Regions from separate parts of the Homo sapiens genome. Here all the other regions are linked to region 1. The links are contacts of gene promoters, found by promoter capture Hi-C in human tissues and cell types (Jung and others, 2019). All regions are on one chromosome and are shown on one strand. The core of a region is centred on a gene start or on the middle of the fragment in contact, and the rest is flanking DNA. Distances in the headings are between cores, read along the strand shown. Region 1 holds the start of XXYLT1 (xyloside xylosyltransferase 1). Region 2 overlaps ATP13A3 (ATPase 13A3). Region 3 overlaps TMEM44-AS2 (TMEM44 antisense RNA 2). Region 4 overlaps LINC01968 (long intergenic non-protein coding RNA 1968). Region 5 overlaps LINC01968 (long intergenic non-protein coding RNA 1968).

The links. Contacts are between HindIII fragments. The study calls those that stand out against the background at their distance.
Region 2: a fragment that was not itself captured here is called in contact with the fragment with the promoter of XXYLT1 in region 1 in 1 of the 25 tissues and cell types used here (spleen).
Region 3: a contact is called between a fragment that was not itself captured here and the fragment with the promoter of XXYLT1 in region 1, in 1 of the 25 tissues and cell types used here (lymphoblastoid cells).
Region 4: a contact is called between a fragment that was not itself captured here and the fragment with the promoter of XXYLT1 in region 1, in 1 of the 25 tissues and cell types used here (dorsolateral prefrontal cortex).
Region 5: a contact is called between a fragment that was not itself captured here and the fragment with the promoter of XXYLT1 in region 1, in 1 of the 25 tissues and cell types used here (dorsolateral prefrontal cortex).

What each region holds. Positions count from the first base shown.
Region 1 is chr3:195,269,770-195,272,585 of GRCh38, reverse strand. It overlaps XXYLT1 (xyloside xylosyltransferase 1), which reads left to right and starts at 1,427. Exons shown (of 4, transcript NM_152531.5): 1 at 1,427-2,031. The coding sequence starts at 1,528. RefSeq lists silencers at 797-1,026, 1,277-1,806, 1,967-2,146 and an enhancer at 1,397-2,188. The HindIII fragment of the contact is 18,362 bases long and covers 1-2,816 here.
Region 2 is chr3:194,414,191-194,417,006 of GRCh38, reverse strand. The region is part of intron 31 of ATP13A3 (ATPase 13A3); the gene reads left to right. Among named protein-coding and RNA genes, the nearest start is that of GP5, 16 kb to the right of the region's middle. The HindIII fragment of the contact is 3,257 bases long and covers 1-2,816 here.
Region 3 is chr3:194,638,083-194,640,898 of GRCh38, reverse strand. The region is part of intron 1 of TMEM44-AS2 (TMEM44 antisense RNA 2); the gene reads right to left. LSG1 (large 60S subunit nuclear export GTPase 1) reads left to right here. Exons shown (of 14, transcript NM_018385.3): 14 at 1-108. Among named protein-coding and RNA genes, the nearest start is that of TMEM44, 6.1 kb to the right of the region's middle. The HindIII fragment of the contact is 4,197 bases long and covers 1-2,816 here.
Region 4 is chr3:194,717,067-194,719,882 of GRCh38, reverse strand. All of the region lies in intron 1 of LINC01968 (long intergenic non-protein coding RNA 1968), which reads right to left. All of the region lies in intron 2 of LOC105374292 (a long non-coding RNA gene), which reads right to left. Among named protein-coding and RNA genes, the nearest start is that of LINC01968, 10 kb to the right of the region's middle. The HindIII fragment of the contact is 3,412 bases long and covers 1-2,816 here.
Region 5 is chr3:194,734,481-194,737,296 of GRCh38, reverse strand. All of the region lies in intron 1 of LINC01968 (long intergenic non-protein coding RNA 1968), which reads right to left. The region is part of intron 2 of LOC105374292 (a long non-coding RNA gene); the gene reads right to left. Among named protein-coding and RNA genes, the nearest start is that of LINC01968, 27 kb to the right of the region's middle. The HindIII fragment of the contact is 7,852 bases long and covers 1-2,816 here.

The DNA of each region.
Region 1 (2,816 bases), core at 178-2,677:
GGTCTCGAACTCCTGGCCTAAGGTGATCTGCCCTCCTCGGCCTCCCAAAGTGCTAGGATTACAGGCGTGAGCCACCATTCCCGGCCTAAGCCACCATGCTTGGCCTTGCTTTATTCTTATGGTTAAATATTTTGAACATTCTTAAATTATTAGGAAGATTTTCTAGAAATAAAAATGCTGTTTCAATGGTTGAGTATATTTTTGAGACTCATCCAATGTGGTAGGCACCGTGTTAGGTACTGGGTATATTGTGGTTAATAAAAAACAAATGTATATTCTGTTCTCTTGGAGTCACGTGTTCTTGCAATGAAGAAAGATGAGACTAGGGTAGTACATATATTTAGGTGGCCCTCACAGAATTATTGAGGATGGCACTTAGCCCAGACACTGGATAGGAGGTATTTAGAGATCATTTGTGTAGGTAGTGACATGTAAGCCAAGGTCTGAAGCAGAGAGGTTGGATAATCCATGCAACCTTACAATGTGGAAATAACAGGAAAAACCGTTTACCTAATCTCTGGTCAGAAATCAGAGAACTTGGCCAAAGAACTGAAGGGTTACTGTACTTACTCAAGTTCTTTGTCTATTTAGACAGCATGCACAGCACTTGCACGTGTTTACTTAAAAACTACTGGTATAGCCTCAATTCTTAGAAGACTGAAGTTAGTACGTTTTTATCTAGTTAGCAGTGTGCAACTGCCTAGGGTCAAAATTGCTACTGGCTAGCTGTGTGACTTTGGGCACGTGACCTCGGCGTGCAAAACTCCCTGGTACCCTCAAGGAGGCTCTTGATAAAGTGTTAAAAGTCTGTTTATAAAACAAAAGTGGATGAATGTCGCCCTCCAGGGCTTTGCGGTGCTGGGGCTCGGGGAGCAGCCTCGCAGGTTCGTGCGGGCGGCGGGGGCCCCCTGCTGGCCACATCCTCCAGCCTCCCTCCGCTCGGCCTCCGGCGCGACGTGCGGCCCGGGCCATTTCCTCCCAGGGCGGGGGAAAAGGGAGGAGCTGCCGGTTTAAATTGCCTAGCTGCAGCTCGTGTGCAGGGAGAGGCCGAGACGGCTTAAAGCCTCCAAGAAATTGAGGGAAAAAAGGTGCAGAGATTAAAGTTTTACCTCTTGGTGCCTCCAGCTTCGCTTTTGGCTAACCTAAGTTCCTCTGTTCGGGCGCCTCCATTCCCTTCAACACTCAGCTTGGATATCCTCTGGGGCTCGCCGCGTAGGGCGCCATTTCTCAGCCGGGACAGCGGGCCAGCCCTCAGCACGCTGGAGTCCGGAATCCCCCCCTCCCAACGCCGGGCGCCGGATCCCACCCTAACCCCTCCTCTAATACCCTTGGAACCTAGGACCCAGCGGTTTCGGCACGCCCGGCCCCGCCCCTCCGCGCACCGGCGCCCGCGATTGGCTCCAGGCGGCGCGGCCCCGCCCCTTTCATGGCCGCCGCCTGGCGCCGGGGCTAAGTGGCCGCCGGCGTCCGGGTACCCGAGGGCTCTCCCGCGTTGCTGGCACCGCTGGCGCCGCGGTCTCGTAGCGCATGGGCCTCCTCCGAGGCGGGCTCCCATGCGCTCGGGCCATGGCGCGCCTGGGCGCTGTGCGCTCCCACTACTGCGCCCTGCTGCTGGCCGCGGCGCTGGCCGTCTGCGCCTTCTACTACCTCGGCTCAGGCCGGGAGACCTTCTCCAGCGCCACCAAGAGGCTGAAGGAGGCCCGCGCCGGGGCTCCCGCCGCGCCCTCGCCGCCCGCGCTGGAGCTAGCGCGGGGCTCCGTGGCGCCAGCCCCCGGCGCGAAGGCCAAGAGCTTGGAGGGCGGCGGTGCCGGGCCGGTGGACTACCACCTGCTGATGATGTTCACCAAGGCGGAGCACAATGCCGCGCTGCAGGCCAAGGCCCGCGTCGCGCTGCGCTCACTGCTGCGCCTCGCCAAGTTCGAGGCGCACGAGGTGCTTAACCTTCACTTCGTGAGCGAGGAGGCCAGCCGCGAGGTGGCCAAGGGCCTGCTGCGGGAGCTCCTGCCGCCCGCCGCTGGCTTCAAGTGCAAGGTGAGCGGGCCGCGGCTGGGGGCTCCCGGTGGGTGGCCCACCCCATCCTAGGCGAGGTCAGTTTGCGCTCCCGGAGGGGATCCGGGGAACTAGCGGGTAGGATCTTCCCTGAGCTGCCCGCTTGCAATGTAGTGTTCACAACCTGCGGGAGGGCTCGTTCGGGGGCGTGTCCGGGAGCCAGACGCCCTCAGCTGGTGCTGAGGAGTGGAGCTGCGTTTTTAATGACCGCCTCGTTTTCCTCTCCCCCAGTTAAGCGCAGCCCCCAGGAGAGTCCGCGCGCCCCCATTTTGCTAACGTTGCAGGGTTCAGCACTGCCTTCAGAGTCTGCACCTCTGTTTATGTTCCTCAGTTTTTGACTTCTGAGGATGGGACTGGTCACCAGTAGTCATCCTGAGCAACTGGAGAGGGCCTTGGTGAGGCCTCTGGAAGTGTTGAAGTTGCAGTGACACTTCTCATTGCTCTTAAGGTATTTCAGTAGGATCTGGTCAAACTCATTGTGAACCATCTTATCTCCTCTCTGTGTCCCTTTTTCCCCTTCCTCCAAGGGTCATGAACCCATTTAGAGAAGCCTGGAGTTCCTCCGAATGAGGAAGAGAAAGCTCAAGAGGAACAGATATGATCTGGGGAGAGCACAGCTGGCCGCCTTGTCCCAGGCTGGACCAGTCTGCCTCCATGACAGCTTCCATCTCTGTTTATCATCTGTCTTCACTGCCTGGCTCTCCTTGTCTGAGATGTGTTTCTGACATAGTGTGAATTGCCTAGGTCAAATTGCTTATTTGATTTTG
Region 2 (2,816 bases), core at 130-2,629, 860 kb after region 1:
CCTAATGTCTTTCAGTAAGTCAGATAGTTTTCTCCCTAATGGTTTTTGTACATTTTTTGTTAGATTCTTAGAGTAATAACAGTTTTTGATCCCTTGATAAATTATAATTAAAATGACATTTTCTAATTTTTTATGTTGTTGAACTCAATACAGTTGTTTTAGATATTCATCTTGTTCCCAGAAGCCTTATCAGACTTTATTCAGACACATTTTAGATTGTCTAGGATTTTCTGTTTAGACAGGCATCATATATAAGTAATTACAAGCTGTAATTACTTACTTGACTCCCCAGCAGTTTGTTTCTGACATTTCACAGTCTTTATGTGCTTTTTCTGTATTTTTCATGTCTTAATATATTAGTTATAGTGATAGTGATATCCTTGTCTTACTCTTGTCTCTAAAGGACGTGTTCCTAATAGTTCACCATTAGATAAACTGTTTGCTGTATATTTCTAGTGTATAGTCTTTATCAGGTTAAGGAAGCTTCCTTAGTTGTACAGTGTTGTTAACATAAGTGGTTTTAAATTTTTATCTAATGCTTTTTTTTTTGAGATGGAGTCTCGCTCTGTCGCCCAGGCTGGAGTGCAGTGGCATGATCTCGGCTCACTGCAACCTCCACCTCCCGGGTTCAAGCAATTCTCCTGCCTCAGCCTCCCAAGTAGCTGGGATTACAGGCGTGTGCCACCATGCCTGGCTAAGTTTTTGTGTTCTTAGTAGAGATGGGATTTCACCATCTGGCCAGACTGGTATCGAACTCCTGACCTCACGATCCACCCACCGTGGCCTCCCAAAGTGCTGGGATTGCAGGTGTGAGCCACTGTGCCCAGCCAATCTAATGCTTTTTCTGCAGCTATTGAAATGGTCACACAGTTTTTCTCCCTGAAGAATGTGATGAATTATAGCTGATCAGTATTCAAATATTGAACTAACTTTGCATTTCTAGAATAAATTCAGTTTGGTCATGATGCACACTCTTTGAAATTTGGATTTAGGTTGCTATGATTTTGTTTTGGATTTTTGCCTCTGCATGAATGAGATCAGATTTAATTTTCTTTTCTTGTATGTTACGGACAGGTTTGATCTTAAAGTTATATAACTTAAACTTACAAAGTTTGTGAAATGAGTATTCCATTGCAGGGACTTTTTAGTAATTTGTTTAGTCCTGTTTTGCTGGATATTTAGGTTGGTTCCAGTGTTTTGCTATTAGAAACAATGTGGTATTGTAAGGAGAATGGTGTGAACCCGGGAGGCGGAGCTTGCAGTGAGCCAAGATCACACCACTGCACTCCAGGCTGGGCGACAGGGCGAGACTCCGTCTCAAAAAAAAAAAAAAAAAAAAAAAAAAGAATGTGGTATTGTAAATCCTTGCACACTTCAGTTACAGACAAATATATATTTATAGGCTAAATATGCAAAAGTGGAATTGCTTGGTCTGAGGGTATCTATAAATTTAATTTTCATAAATTCTGCATTATTGAACTTTGAAGATGTTCCAGGTTGTAGTCTTACCAGCAGTATATGTCTGTTTCCCTGCATATTTCATTGAGGGGTTTAGATAAGCACTTACAGTAAAAGAAGAAAACAAAATGCATTATATTTCTCTCCTGGTGCACATGTCTTCTGTTTCACAACCAACTTTTTCTTGAAATAGTACCACATTCAGCTCACCTCCCACACGTTCGTCAACTAATCTGGCATCTTCCCCTGCCAATCTACTGAAACGGCCCTCAGCAAGGCCGTTAGCCTCTTACTTGTTAAGTCCAATGGACTTTTCTCCCTAATGTATTTTTTTCCAGTCTTACTTGACTCCCCAGCAGTATTTGACGAGTTAGCCATGTCATCATTCTTAAGATACTCTCTTCTGAAATTTTGTGATGCTTTGCTGTCTTTTGGCCTTTTCTTAGCTCTGACTCTCCAGTCTCATTTTCCACTTTGGCTCCACTCCCTCTGCCCATTCCTTAAATGTTAGGGTTCCTTACATTTCTGTTCTTATTCCTCTGGTCACTCAATACATTCTGGTGATATCCCCTAGAGTCATGGCTTCACCTGTAATCACCATCTATATGTTAAAGGCTCCCAACCTTTATACCCTGAGCCTACCTCACTACTAAGCTTTAGACCTGCAAATACACTGATATATTGACTGTTACTTGGGTGTTCCACCCAACAGATCCCTCAATTTAAACATTTTAAGAACTAAGCTCATCATGTTCTCCTTCAACCCTTTTTCTTCTCTGTTTCTTGGTACCACTATTTATTCAAGTCAGAAGTGTGCATGCTTGTGTACATGCGTGTGTGTCTATTTATCTGTGCCTTTTCTTCCTCTTTCCGTAGCCAGCCATTTGTTAGATTCTTTCAGTTTTCTTATTATAAACCTTTCTGTCTTTACAACTATCCCATTTTTTAGGCCTTAGAAATTAATCAGATTTTAAAGTGAACACTTAGATTGTTTTTTCTTAACTTCATCTTTTTTTATGAAGTTGTCTTTATAATTGAGTTTTGACCAGTACTTCGTTATTAGATTGGTACCTCTTTTTTTTTTTTTTTAAGGCAGGTTCTTCTGTCACCCACGCTGGAGTACAGTGGCAGGATCTCGGCTCACTGCAGCCTCCACTTCCCAGGCTCAAGTGATTCTCGTGGCTCAGCCTTTTGAGTAGCTGGGATTATAGGCATGCACCACCTCGCCTGGCTAATTTTTGTATTTTTAGTAGAGACGAGATTTTGCCATGTTGCCCAGGCTAGGCTCAAACTCCTAGCCTCAAGTGATCTGCCCACCTCTGCCTCCCAAGATGTTGGGATCACAGGCATGAGCCACT
Region 3 (2,816 bases), core at 177-2,676, 630 kb after region 1:
TTCTAACATGATTGTAAGTTTCCTGAGGCCTCCCTAGAAGCAAAAGCTGCTGTGCTTCCTGTACCATCTACAGGACCGTGAGCCAATTAAACCTCTTTTCTTTATAAATTACTGTCTCTGGTATTTCTGGTTTTCTTTTTTTTTTTTTTTTTGAGACGGAGTCTCACTCTGTCGCCCCGGCTGGAGTGCAGTGGCATGATCTCGGCTCACTGGAACCTCCCTCTCCCGGATTCAAGCAACGTGCCCTCCCAGAAGAGAAAGCTGTTGAGCTGCTGGCCTGTCTCCGCCAGGCGGCTGGGATTTATGGTCACCATTGGCTGCCCACTCCCGTAGGGCCGCCCAGGCCGCTGCAGCCTTTCCTTCAGAAGGACGGTGCCTGAGGTCCTGCCACCTCTGCCAACAGGAAATGCCTTTGAGCAGTCACATCACTGCCCACTGTCCAGGAGGACAAGTGCTGCGGTCCTCTTGTTAGTTTTTCTTTTTGGCTAACTCTGAACCATGGCCAAAAACATTATCTTTAGCTCCTGGGCAGCTGCTGGACCTCTGAGGAGCCTGGTTAAGGAACTGATTCATTTCCTGAGGGCCGACCACGTGCAGAGCCCTGTGGAAAGTACAGGGAGAACCTGGGCAGGGTTCTAATGACCCAGAGGGAGCTAGTTAGAAGATACCGTCCAAAGTGTTCACGGCAGGATGAAGTCCCGACTCCCTCGCTACCGAACGCTGACCGTCTCGCCTCCCCTCCTGCAGGTGCTGCCCTCCCTCTGCTATTTGCCTTTCTCCCTATACCATCTCTTGCCGCCTCCAAGGGCCTCTGCAGAGCTGCTGCCATGGCCTTGTTGCCAAAAGCAAACATTCTCCAAGGCCCAGCTTATGCATTATTTCTTGGAAACCTTCCCCCACACACCCCCGCCCACAATGCGGGGTGTCGTCAATGTACTTTAAAGATGCCCCTGCTGTAGTACATGTTGTATTTTTATGGCTTGTTTAAAAATCAGCATATCCGGCCAGGCATGGTGGCTCACGCCTGTAATCCCAGCACTTTGGGAGGCTGAGGCGGGTGGATCACTTGAGGTCAGGAGTTTAAGACTAGCCTGGCCAACATGGTGAAACCCCGTCTCTACTAAAAATACCAAAATTAGCCGGGCATGGTGTTACGCACCTGTAATCCCAGGAGGCAGAGGTTGCAGTGAGCCAAGATCACACCCCTGCACTCCAGCCTGGGCAACAGACAGAACAAGACAGTCTCAAAAAAAAAAAAAATCAAAAAATCAGTGCATTCATTCAGTAAATATTTTCCTTATTATGTGCCAGGCACTGAGCTAGAAGCTGAGGATGCAAGTGTAAACTAAACAACCCTGGCTGCAAGAAGCTCACAGCCTGGTAGAAAGACGGCACTCTTCACCCTTTAGAGGTGTCTTTGTAATAGAGTGGCGCAGGCACTGGGGCTTGGGCCCCCAGGACCAGGACGGCAAGTCAGCTGAAGCAAGGATGATTGCGGTGGAAGAGCCCTGTGAGGGAGAGCCAGGAGTTTGGCTTTAGACGTGTGCATTAGGCATGCAGGGGAGACGTCAAGTTATCAAGTAGGCAGCTGCGTATGTGAGTCTAAAGTTTGAGAAGGAGGGACCTGGAGCTGCGCATTCGGGAGGTGCAGGTACAGGGACAGTAGTTAAAGCCAGAGACCCAATGAGATCCCCAACAGAGGATAGGTAGGGATGAGAACCAAGAACTGAGCTGCATGTCTCCCCCCCATTAGCTGACCTTCCTCCTTTTACAGAAAGGAACACACAAGTGCAGAGAGGACCAGTGTTTTGCCCCAAGTCACAGCACAGCTGCTGCAATGCGGAGGGAAAATTCCAGTGTAAGATCAGCAGGCTCCAGAGCCCACACTCTTCCCATTGCTTCTGTTTTGTTTGTTTGTTTGCTTGTTTTTTGAGACAAGAGTCCTGTTTTGTCGCCCAAGCTGGAGTGCAGTGGCGTGATCTCTGCTCACTGTAACCTCCGCCTCCTGGGCTCAAGTGATCTGCCTCAGCCTCCCAAGTAGCTGGATTACAGGCACCCACCACTATGCCTGGCTATTTTTTGTATTTTTAGTAGAGACAGGGTTTCACCATGTTGGCCAGGCTGGTCTCGAACTCCTGATCTCAAATGATCCACCCGCCTCGGCCTCCCAAAATGCTAGGATTACAGGTGTGAGCCATCGCACCCAGCCTCCCATTGCTTCTTTACGTGAGCCAGCTTGTCCAGTGACTGGGAGCAGCTCCCCGACTGAGGGCCATCTCCAAAACCCATAGTTTCTTGTAAGAATTGTCATGAAGCTTGTGGAGATGCAGTGTAGGAGGCTGAACAATGGTTCCTGAATATATCAGGCCCTAATCCCTGGAAACTGCAAATGTTACCTTATATGGAAAAAGGGTCTTGGTGGTTGTGATTAAATTTTTTTTTTTTTTTTTGGTCTTGAGATGGAGTCTCTGTCACCAGGCTGGAGTGCAGTGGCACGAGCTTGGCTCATTGCAACCTCTGCCTCCCAGGTTCAAGCAATTCTCCTGCCTCAGTAGCTGTAATCCCTCCCGAGTAGCTGGGATTACAGGCACGCACCACCACGCCCAGCTAATTTTTGCATTTTTAGTAGAGACGGGGTTTCACCTTGTTGGCCAGGATGGTCTCGATCTCTTAACCTTGTGATCCGCCCACCCTGGCCTCCCAAAGTGCTGGGATTACAGGGGTGAGCCGCCATGCCCAGCCAGTTGTGATTAAATTAAGGATGGGGAGATTATCGCAGATTATCTGAGTAGACCACGAATGTAATCACAAGTGTC
Region 4 (2,816 bases), core at 112-2,611, 550 kb after region 1:
TTCTAGGGCTGCCATAACAAAGTACCACAAACTTGGTGCCTGAAAATAATCGAAATCTATTCTGTTCTGAAATCTATTCACTTCTGGAGGCTGGAAGTCCAAAATCAAGGTGTCAGCAGGGCCATGCTGCCTCTGAAGTCTCTAGGGGAGAATCCTTTCCCTGGCTCTTCCCAGCTTCTGGTGGTGGCCATGGATCCTTGTCTCCCCTGGGCTTGTAGCTGCATCACTCCAATCCCTGCCTGTGTGTTATCACATGGCCTTTTCCCCTGTGTCTCTCTCTCCTTATAGGGACACCAAGCTTTTCATTTAGGGTCTATCTACCCTAATCCTATATCACCTCATCTTCACTTGATTGCATATGTAAAGGCCCTATTTCCAAGGAAGGTCACATTCACAGCTTCCAGGAGGATATTGATCTTGTGGGGTTATATTCAAACCGGTACACCTCATAAACCACCTGTAGGGATTCTTGATCTCCATCCCTAGGAGGCAGACAATGGAGACATTTGTACCAGTCTATCTGCAAATCTATTTAGATCCTTAATCCTTCTCTAGAATACCAGAAAGAAAGCCACCTGCCCACAGTCAAAAGAAAATGACGTAGCTAATTAGGTTGTCGTTTTTAATGTTTTTAAGACCAACAGAGATGAAAAAGACACTATCCTTGTGGGTTTTTTTCAGATTTGATTCCACATTTTTAACAGTAAGCCCATTTTATGCCTGTTTAGAAACAGCAAACATAGTATTTAAAGTGTAATCAGCCAGGCGGGGTGGCTCACACACTTTGAGAGGCCAAGGCAGGCAGATCCACTTGAGGCCAGGAGTTCGAGACTAGCCTGAACAACATGGTGAAACCTCATCTTTACTACAACTACAAAAATTAGCTGGATATGTTAGTGCGCACCTGTGGTCCCAGCTACTCCGAGGCTGAGGCAGGAGAATCACTTGAACCCGGGAGGCAGAGGTTGCAGTGAGCCGAGATTACACCACTGCACTCCAGCCTGGGAGACAGAGCAAGACTCCATCTCTAAATAAATAAATAAATAAATGTAATCAACTAATGTTTTTCTCCTAAAGAAGCTTGATAGATTATCACACACACACACACACACACACACACACACACAACTGAAAACTCCTTTTATTTTTCCAATTTAGCATTGTAACTTAACGTTGTAACTACTAATTTAGATGGTCCCAGGAAGCACAAAAAGGAGCCCAGGCTGATGGTCAAATTCTGTAGTAATTCCTATGAGATGATCATTTAACACCAGTCACTCTTACTTCTTCACAACTTTCTTGTACAAAATCCAAGATAGGTTTTAGGCAGAGCTATTGCTTGTGTTACTCTTCAGACCCAGGCCCTAGGTGTATTTGCAAAATTAAACCATGTTAGGCTTTGAGGAACAAGAAGAGGCATTTTTTAAAACTTCCCCAGTCCCTGGGGTCCCTGGGCTGACCTAGAGGTCTGGGTTGGGAAATTAACTATTCCCATTTCCATTTCTTCCCGTCATTTAAGCTGTTTCCTTGGAATGTCACAGCCCATCTGTGCTTCCTTCTGTGAAATGAGGCCTGTGACCATTGGCTGTGTACCATTAGGGGAGCTAGAGGAGCAGCCAGGAGATGTGAACTCATTCTCGCCCTCAAGTCACATTGACTCTGCACCTAGAAAGGCAGCAGGCAGTAGTAGCAGATCAGGGGTGGAAGGCAACAAAGAGCTGAAAACAAAGCTGTCCCTCTGGAGTTGTACTGCCTAGGTTCAAATCTTAGATTCATTCTGGAGAGACAAGATAGAAACTTCTCTAAGCCTGTTTGCTCATCTGTAAAATGAGGTTAACAGTGCCTGCTGCTTGGAGTTACGCAGAAGTACTGCGATAGTGAAGGTAGCAAGTGCCTGGCACATAGCAGGCATTCAGTAAGGCTAGGCCTCATTAACAGGAGTTCCCGCTCTGCTGAACGTTCATGGCTGCCTGGATCAGAGTCTTAAGAAGCCATGTTCAGGCTTAATGGGAAGGAATGTCCTGATAGATTACTGATGTCTGCCCTGGGTGGTTTTACTGGAGTCACGTATTTGCCAATTCTGCAGGCACCATATTGAACTCATATTTTTCTTCCCAAGACCCCTTCCAAGCCCCTTGTATGGTAGACACACCTTTGTATGGTAGACATGCCTGATAGCAATAACTTCTTAAGCATACACAGAGAATGGCTCTGTATGGCAGATACACTTGAATATGTGTTCAGAGTTCTGAGTGTGGCCAACCCAGAGAGTCATTCCTTACCTATGAGGAACATCTGAGCCCCCAGCCATCCAATCGAAGGTGGACCATACAGGGGACTGAAGCTCTTTGTTTTGGGTTAAATGGAGGTTGCCAGGTGGAGGTCATTAAGGGGAGCATATGAGGTAAAAATGTTGTGTTAACTGCACGCTTTCTGGAGGCTGTGGCAGTTCTGTTCAGCCTGCCGCCACTGCACCATCCTTGTGTGTAATTCCCCCTAATAAAACCATGTGTCTCATTCGCTGGTTCTGGGTCTCTTTTTTGGCTTGTCAAGCCTGGTGCTGTCCCTGTTGACATTAACAGGGGTCCAGTATAACAGTATCCCCTTTTGTAAATCCTTGCTCTGAAACTCACCACACCGATGTGTCACGCTGAAGTGAAAACCTAGTTGGTCCAAAGCTGAACAACTAGAGGCAGGATGCTAGAGAGGAGAGAGCCACAGCTAGTCCCAGCTTCTCCGACAACTCAGCCACGACCCCGAGCAGAAGCCAGCCCCTCTCTGACCCTCAGATCCCTTATCCATAAAACAGCAATGAT
Region 5 (2,816 bases), core at 231-2,730, 540 kb after region 1:
GTTGTAACCCTGGAAGGAGAAACAAGAACAGCAAGAGAAGAAGCAGAAGGAGCAAAAATAGAAGCAGGAGCTGAAGAAGAAGAGCGGGGGGAGAAAAGGAAGGGGAGAAAGAAGAGGAGGGAAGAGAAAGGCAGGGTGGGGAGGGAAGAGGGAGACATAGTCACAGTGGAGGAAGGAGAAGCTGCGGCAGAAGGAGAAGCAGCAAAAGCAAAAGTCAGAGCAGAGAAATGGAAACAAGCCAAAGTAGCAGCAGCAGAACGAAGAGAAGCAGCAGAAAAGGCAGGAGGAGGAGGAGGAAAAGCGCAAGAGGAGGAGGAAAAGGAAGAAAAAGCAGAAGGAGAAGTAGATGAATATGTTGCAGAAGAAGCACCAGCAGGAAAAGCAGAGGCAGAAGCAGCAAGCACAGGAGGAAAGAGAAGCAGAAGAGAGAAGCAACAGCTAAGAAGAAGCACCAGCAGAGACAGCAGTAGAAGAAGCATGGGAAGCAGAAGAAGGGGGAAGAGAGGGCGGAAGAGTGGGGAAGAGAGGGCGGAAGAGCAAGACTGGGTTGGGGAAGTCGTAGTAGAGGGAGGATGAGAAGCAGAAACAGAAAAAGCAGCTGAGAAAAAAGCAGAAGCAGAAAAGGCAGAAGCCAAAGCACAAGGCAGAAGAAAGCAGAAGCTGAAGCCAACGCAAAGCAGCAGACACAAGAGGAGAGAGAGCAGAACAGCAGACCTGACCACTGCAGCAGAACAGCAGACCCGACCACTGCAGCAGAACACAGAACAGCAGACCTGACCACTGCAGCAGGACACAGAACAGCAGATCCGACCACTGCAGCAGAACAGCAGACCCAACCACTGCAGCAGGACAGCAGACCCAACCACTGCAGCAGGACAGCAGACCAAACCACTGCAGCAGAACACAGAACAGCAGACCTGACCACTGCAGCAGGACAGCAGACCTGACCACTGCAGCAGGACAGCAGACCAAACCACTGCAGCAGAACAACAGACCTGACCACTGCAGCAGAAGCTGGAGAAAAAGGACAGAATCAGCAGAAGCCAAAGCAAAGGAAGCCAAAGCAGAAGGAGCATCCCGAGGCAGAGGCTGTGTGCCCACTGAGGGGTAAGGAAGAGAAGGCAGTGTGCCCACTGAAGGTTAAGGAAGAGAGGGCAGTGTGCCCACTGAGGGGTAAGGAAGAGAGGACACAGGCCTGGCCACTTGATTGGACCATTGGCTCTCCGAACCCTAGTGTCCTTCAGGAGACAAAGAGGCAGGTGAACCAGTGAGACGTTCTTGCAATTCTAATCATTTGTGCCAAAAATGAGGATAGGCTGAAGCGGAAATGTTCCCAAGACAAAAACAAGGATAAAGGAATAAACTTTGATCAAGCACCTTCCATGGGCCAAGCACAAAAGAGACTCAGCCCCTGCTTTCCATGAGCTCATAGTCTAGACAGGGTGATGCCAATGGTCAGAAGAGGGGTAGGAATTGCAAAGGCCCATAATTTGGGAAATGAGGAGACATTAGAGAGGCTTTAGAAAGAGGTAGGAAAAGACAAAAACATTAATAATAACTATAGCTACAATAATTTGTTAATGGATACACAATATGAAAATATGTAAATTGTGACATCAAAAACATAAAGTGGGAGGAGGATTAAAAGTAGTGTTTTAGTACGTCATAAAAGTTAAGTTGTTACCAGCTGAAAATAGACTGTTATAACCATAAGATGTTTTAGGTAAGCCTCATGGTAACTGCAAAGCAAAAACCTACACTAAATACACAAAACAGAAAGAGAAAGAAATCAATGCCACTACAGAAAACATCAAATCCCAAAGGAAGACAGCAACAGAAGAAGAAAGGAACAAAGGATCTACAAATTAGAAAACAATTACCAAAATAGCAATAATAATTCTTAAAAATCAATAATCACTTTAAATGTAAATGGATTAAATTTTCCAATCAAAAGACAGAGGGGCCCATTGGATTAAAAACAAGGCCCAGCTATATGTATATAGCTGGATTTGATGATTTCTATAGTGTTATGGTTGTAACACTATAGAAAAGAAAAGCAGCTTTTGTAAGGCCATAGCTCTCATAGACAATGACACATCTGGTGGATCTGGGCAAAGTAAATTGAAAACCCTCTGGAAAGGGTTCACCATTCTAGATGCCATTAAGAACATTAGTGATTCACGGGAGGAGGCTGAAATACTAACATTAACAACCAATTTTGAAGAAGTTGGTTCCAACCTTCATGGATGACTTTGAAGGCATCAAGACTTGGGTGGAGGAAGTCCTGCAGATGAGGTACAAATAAATAACAAGATAACTAGACTTATTATAGAAGTGACGCTCGGAGTTGCTTCTTTTTTTTTTGAGACAGAGTCTCTCTCTGTCGCCCAGGCTGTAGTGCAGTGGCGCGATCTTGGCTCACTGCAACCTCCGCCTCCCAGGTTCACGCCCCATTCTCCTGCCTCAGCCTCCTGAGTAGCTGGGACTACAGGTGCCTGTCACCACGCCTGGCTAATTTTTTGTATTTTTAGTAGGAGAGAGGGTTTCACCGTATTAGTCAGAATGGTCTCGATCTCCTGACCTCGTGATCTGCCTGCCTCGGCCTCCCAAAGTGCTGGGATTACAGATGTGAGCCACTGCACCCAGCCCAGGGAGTTGCTTCTTATGGATGAGCAAATAAATGGTGTCTTTTTTCTTTTTTTCCTTTTTTTTGGGTTTTTTTTTTTTTTCCTCTCTTTTTGAGACAGAGTCTTGCTCTGTCTCCAGGCTGGAGTGCAGTGGCGTGATCTCGGCTCACTGCAATCTCCGCTTCCTGG